2 separate regions of the Homo sapiens genome follow, and region 2 is linked to region 1. Evidence: promoter capture Hi-C in human tissues and cell types (Jung and others, 2019). All regions are on one chromosome and are shown on one strand. Each heading gives the region's core, a stretch centred on a gene start or on the middle of the fragment in contact. The rest is flanking DNA. Distances are from core to core; before and after follow the strand shown. Region 1 holds the start of ZBTB5 (zinc finger and BTB domain containing 5). Region 2 overlaps RNF38 (ring finger protein 38).

Evidence for each region. The method cuts DNA at HindIII sites, captures the fragments that hold promoters and counts their contacts. A contact is called where the count stands out against the background at its distance.
Region 2: a fragment that was not itself captured here is called in contact with the fragment with the promoter of ZBTB5 in region 1 in 1 of the 25 tissues and cell types used here (dorsolateral prefrontal cortex).

The regions. Positions count from the first base shown.
Region 1 is chr9:37,464,008-37,466,707 of GRCh38, reverse strand. It overlaps ZBTB5 (zinc finger and BTB domain containing 5), which reads left to right and starts at 1,258. Exons shown (of 2, transcript NM_014872.3): 1 at 1,258-1,493. RefSeq lists enhancers at 1-278, 279-964, 965-1,650, 1,651-2,336 and a silencer at 1,331-1,430. The HindIII fragment of the contact is 10,232 bases long and covers 1-2,700 here.
Region 2 is chr9:36,380,554-36,383,253 of GRCh38, reverse strand. All of the region lies in intron 2 of RNF38 (ring finger protein 38), which reads left to right. Among named protein-coding and RNA genes, the nearest start is that of RNF38, 18 kb to the left of the region's middle. The HindIII fragment of the contact is 8,504 bases long and covers 1-2,700 here.

The DNA.
Region 1 (2,700 bases), core at 9-2,508:
GGGCGATCTGCCCGCCTCAGCCTTCCCAATTGCTGCGATTATAGGCGTGAGCCATCGCGCCCGGCTGGGAGTTCCATTTTTCTGGGAGCTCCTCCAAGACCCTTACCCCCACCCCCAGAAGAACCCAGCTGAGTTCGCGGGCCTGCCTTTGTCTCCAGAGCCACGCAGCGCTCCCAGACACGCTGCGCCGGAGAAGGCAGCTTTCTTCTGCCGTCCTCACCCTAGGAAAGGGGGTTTCTTCCCTGGCCCCAGTGTCCGATGCTCAGGGATCGGGTTCTCCCTCCGAGGGTGCACCTGGAAACCCGAGCGTCGCCCCGGGGCTCGCTTTTTTCAGACCGCGTCCCATACAAGTCCGCGACCCTTCCACGTTTGGGACAGGAGTGGGAGAGCTTAGCGCTTCCTATTTTTTTGTGGGGGGAGTGCAGGTGATTATAAATCTGGGCATGCAGACTACAGGCTTATTTGACCTGCAGCCGAGTGCGGGGCCAAGCGCCGGGCTCCTGGGGCGCCACCGTTTCCAGACGCGCAGCCACCCGGACTGGACGAGGGGCGGGGTCCGACCTAACTGCCATCCGATGGACAGCGTTTTTTATTCGCGGTTTTCACCCTGGACTTTGGCTTAGTTAAACCTAAAGAGCTTTTTGGAATCTTATCTTTCCCAACGTCTATGAAGTGGGAACTCAATCTCCAGCCCTCTACGTGTGTGTGTGTGTGTGTGTTCAGCGAAGGGAATTCACCCCGGAGAAGAGCCCTGGGTCACTAAAGCGCCGGGCACCACGAGGGTGGAAAAATCCTTCAGAACCAGCCAATGGCGGTACGGCCTGCCCTGAGGGCCCGCCTCTCCGGCGCCCTCAGACATCACGCAGTCGTTGTTGTGATTGGCGGATTTAGGCGGAAAGCCCGCTAGCCTAAACCACAGAGGGTTTTGATTGGTTGCAGCGAACAGCCGCATTTCTATAGTCCAAACCTGGAGCAGTTTAGTGATAAATCCCGCCCTAAAAGGCATTTGATAACCGTTTTACATGTTGTAAGGCAAAGGGTGATTGGTCAGAGAGCTCACGGATTCAGTCGGTAGTAAACACAACCAGACTTCAGGGACCGTGGATTGGTCAGTTTTTCCGGGGGCTAAGTAAATTCCTCCAGGTTCCGCGCGCCGGCTGGCTGCACTCCTACCCCGGCCCCGCCCTTCCCATTGCTGATTGGTTGCAGCCCAACTGGGAGAGGCGGAATGGGGCGGAGTAGGCGCTCTTGCATTACGTCACTTCCGCTTATCCTCGGGCGCCGCCGCCGTGTTCTCAGAGTGCTGCGGCGAACTGGCTGGAGGAGCTAGGGGACTAGAGGCGGGGTGGGAGGGGGGCGGGTGGAAGGGGGAGGAAGTCCCGTAACGGAGACGCTGGTCAGGACGTTCCCACCTCCTCTGACACTGCCGAGTCCGATCGGAGAGGGGTCACCGCCTCCTTCAGCGAGGAGGAGGGGGGCGGAGCCCGACTCAGGTGAGGAGACCCCGTCAGCGAGTATCGTGATGGCGGGCGCGCTCACGTGGGGAAGGTTGAGCACCAGGGGCGCGCCAAGGCGTCGGGGAGCGCGCAGACGTGTACTGGTGCCCCCGGACTACTCTGGCTGTCTTTCGGAGGGGAGCATTGTTACCGTTGGAGCCAAGGGGCCAGGCGGGTTCTTCTGCGCAGGCGTCCCCGGTGTCCCGACGCCAGGCTGTCTGCGGGGTGGGGCGGGGGCTGGTACTCCTGTGGATCCCCGGCTGGCGACGTAGGTTCCCGAATGGGGTGGGAAAGGCCTCAGGACCAGCGGCCTGGCGGGATGAAGAGAGGATCTGCTGCCCTGCGGGATGTGGTCGGACGGCTCCCTTGCCCCCATCCTGGGTCTTGAGCGACGAGGTTTCATTTCACCAGAGCAAGGCCATAGGCAGACTGCCATCGGGAGCCAGCGGCCGACCCTGGAGGGGTGGAGCCAGTGTTTCGGAATGCCCCAACTTGTTATGAGAGGACTGAAGTGTTTAATAGGCATTTATTGAATGCCCACTACTCCCAGGCTTCGTGCGAGGAGCTGTGGGGGATGCGGTGGTAAGACACTGCCGTCCCATCTTCTCCTGTTTGGAGGACAGATTTGTATGTAAATAATAAAAGGCAGTGAATTAAGGGGTGTTGAAGGTTAGTTTTTTCCTTTCATAATGGTCATTTTTTTTTAAGTCAGTCAGCATTCTGGCATAGTGAAGGATATTGTGGAAACTAATTTTCTGAACAGAAGGCAAATCCTAAATAATTTGGAGGAAAAATTTTAGGTGAAAGCACAGTAAAGTTGATTACTAAGTAGTATCTTCTGACTCTAGTTAACTTGAATTAATAGAAGGAACTCTTCACCTTCAAAAATTGAAGCAAAAATATTCCAAAACATGTTCTCATATTTTTCACTTGTATTAAGTAGAGGACATTACGGGCTTTTCTTTAGAGGTTGAAGAGAATGCTGTGCCTTAGTCATTAAGTCATTGGTAATTTGTTGTCCTAGTATGGGCTGTTGTGCTTAGATGTAAAAGGCTGGGCAGAACTTGCTTTTCATTTGCCTAAACTCTTGTGATTTCTGTGGGGACGGTGGTTGGCAGTAAGCTAATAGTTCAGAGGGAAAAGTCCAGATGGGAAGAAGACAAGGAATTTTAGAGAAAAGCCCCTAAGCCAAAGGAAACCGTTC
Region 2 (2,700 bases), core at 198-2,697, 1.1 Mb after region 1:
CTCCAGCCTGGCAGCAGAGCGAGACTCTGTCTCAGCAACCAAAAAACCACATTTTACGTATTATCTGGACATAGTTTAAAAATGAAAACCTCAGCTTGTGGAGAATAAAATGAGGTAATGTTAGAAGTCATTTTGTAAACTATTGTGTGATCCAAATATAAAATTCTTAATTTTCTGCTTTCCCCAGCTTATATCCATCTTCTGCAAAACAAAAAAGGATCTTGTCTTATTTTTTAGTAACAAGTTGCTTATATAGAGTGTTGATTTCTAAGTGTTTTCACATTTATTTAAAATGAATAAAATTTAGTGAGAGTTTGCTCTTCCTGGGCCCTTTGCATTTAACTGTTTTTCCTTAATTGTGGAATAAGAAACTTCATTTTTGTTAAAGGTAATTAAGGCAAGTAGAGAAAGTCTGGGAGTTTAAAGGAGAATTGAAGATTCTTAACTCATGCTGTGCTTATTTGTAAATCTAAGGTGAAGAGTAGTCCTGACTGATTAGAAAGAGGACCAGGTTCTTGAGAAATTCCATTTCCCCACACAAGTTGCCTCTTTGCTGCTTTGGGAAGGAAGTCCTTAGGGCTCACTAGTGGTTGCCATTAGAGGCATGTTGTAGTCACTGAGTAGAACTTGAAACCTGTTTCTGTTTTGGGAAAAGTTTGTCTGGCTCAGCATCTCCTATTATCTCTAAGACTTGCTGATATATATATAAACCCAAGATATATATTACATATAAAATTGTTTTTCTTTAGCCTTTAATGACTTCTGACTTGTTCATCTGGAATTATGGAATGCATTCTTATGCCTGCCTCAGGTTCATTTCACTTCTGTTGATGTTTTGGTAATAAAAATGGTTTGGTGTTAATAGAGGTGTACTCCTAGACTCATTTTTATCAGATTTAATGCTAAGCATAAAACCTGCCTTTCCTTCCTTCCTCCCATTATGACCTCTTTGACCTCCCTTGATCCCTAAATCTGTAGCAGTGTTCTATACTGTAATGTCTGTACAACGTTCTATATTATTAAATAATAGAGACAGTACTTGTACCAGATTTGAATCAACATCTTATGAATTTTAAATTGTCAACACTTGGTACTTTGAAAAGTTGGTCCACTGGCCTAGAATCAACAAGGAGAGGAGGGAAAGAACTTCTCTGCCTGATAATTCAAAATCTAAATTATCCAAGCATCATCACCTGGGATAATAGTAGAGATGACAGTTCATGGACCTCTGGTCCAGACTTTCTGAATTAGAGACGGGGGAGTGAGGCCAGCAAGCAATCTGGTGTTTCTGAAGCATGAAGGTTTGAGAACTACTGGCATAGGTATTAATGGAAAGACCCAACTCTGTGAAAACATTTTAAAGAGGTTTATTCTGAGACAATATGAGTGACCATGGTCTGGGAAACAGTCTCAGGAGGTCCCAAGGAAATGTACCCACTACAGTCGAATTACAGTTTTAGGGAGGCAGGAGTTACAAAGTCATAAATCAATACATGGAAAGTATACATTGTTTCAAACCGAAAAGACACAGAATATCTTGAAGTGAGGACTTAAAGATTTTAGGTGGATTCAGAGATGAGATTCTGTAATTTGCAGTTGGTTTATAGAGTAAAGCTTTGTCTAAAAATTTGGATTCAGCAGAAGGGAATCTTATAAGAAAGTCTGTTAACCAATACACTGGGTTAGAGTGACCTGTAGGGGTGTGTGAGTTAACCCTTGTCTGGCTTGGCCTTAGGTCCTGTTTATAATTTGGTATCTTATTGTCACAAAAAGTCCATTCTGTTAGGTCCTATAATTTCTATTTTAACATTAATGCTGGTCAGTTTTGCCTAAACTCCAGAAGCAGGGGATGGAGAGATAAAATGAGGTGTATCTAGTCTTCCTTCCTGTCCAGGCCAAGAACTCAATTTTTCTAGTTTCTCTGGGGTCTCTGTAGTCAAGAGAGAGTCAGTTCAGTCATTTGGGGGGGATTTTATTTTTAGTTTACAAAAGCAGTGGGAATATCCTTCCAGATTCAGTTTTGTATTTACTCATGTAAAGAGACCTTGTAGTAGCGTAGTTCTGGATGAGTTTTTATGTTTTTATGTTTAGAGGTTCACAGACAGCATGGATCGTGAAAATCTGAACCCCAAATAGGGTGTGAGGAGTGAACCTAAGTTTGAATTCTCACGGGAGAAACCCACTTCCACTCGAAGTCAACACAGAGCAGACATTTCCTTATTGACGTTTCCTTCTCTTTTCCACTGGAATGACTTTTTCTTGTCTTCCTTTTTAAGTGTACTACTTTGGAAATTTTGACTACTTCATGTAGGGGTCTCAGTCATAAGGCCTTATCTTCTATTCCTCTTGAGAGCATCAAAAATACAAATTTGGTCTTCAGTTTTCCTCAGTTTCTGAGTCCTTGATGATTTCCCTTTTTTCCCCTGCATTTAGCACTGCATTTTAAAAGCATGTTTGTTAGCCAGGCGTAATGACTCAACACCTGTAATCCCAGCACTGTGGGAGGCCGAGGTGGAAGGATTGCTTGAGCCCAGGAGTTTGAGACCAAACTGGGCAATATAGTGAGACCTTGTATCTCCAAAATTTTTTTTTAATTAGCTGGTCATGGTGGTGTGCACCTGTAGTCCCAGCTACTTGGGAGACTTAGGTGAGAGCATCTCTTTAGCCCGGGATGTGGAGGTTGCAGTGAGCTGAGATCGT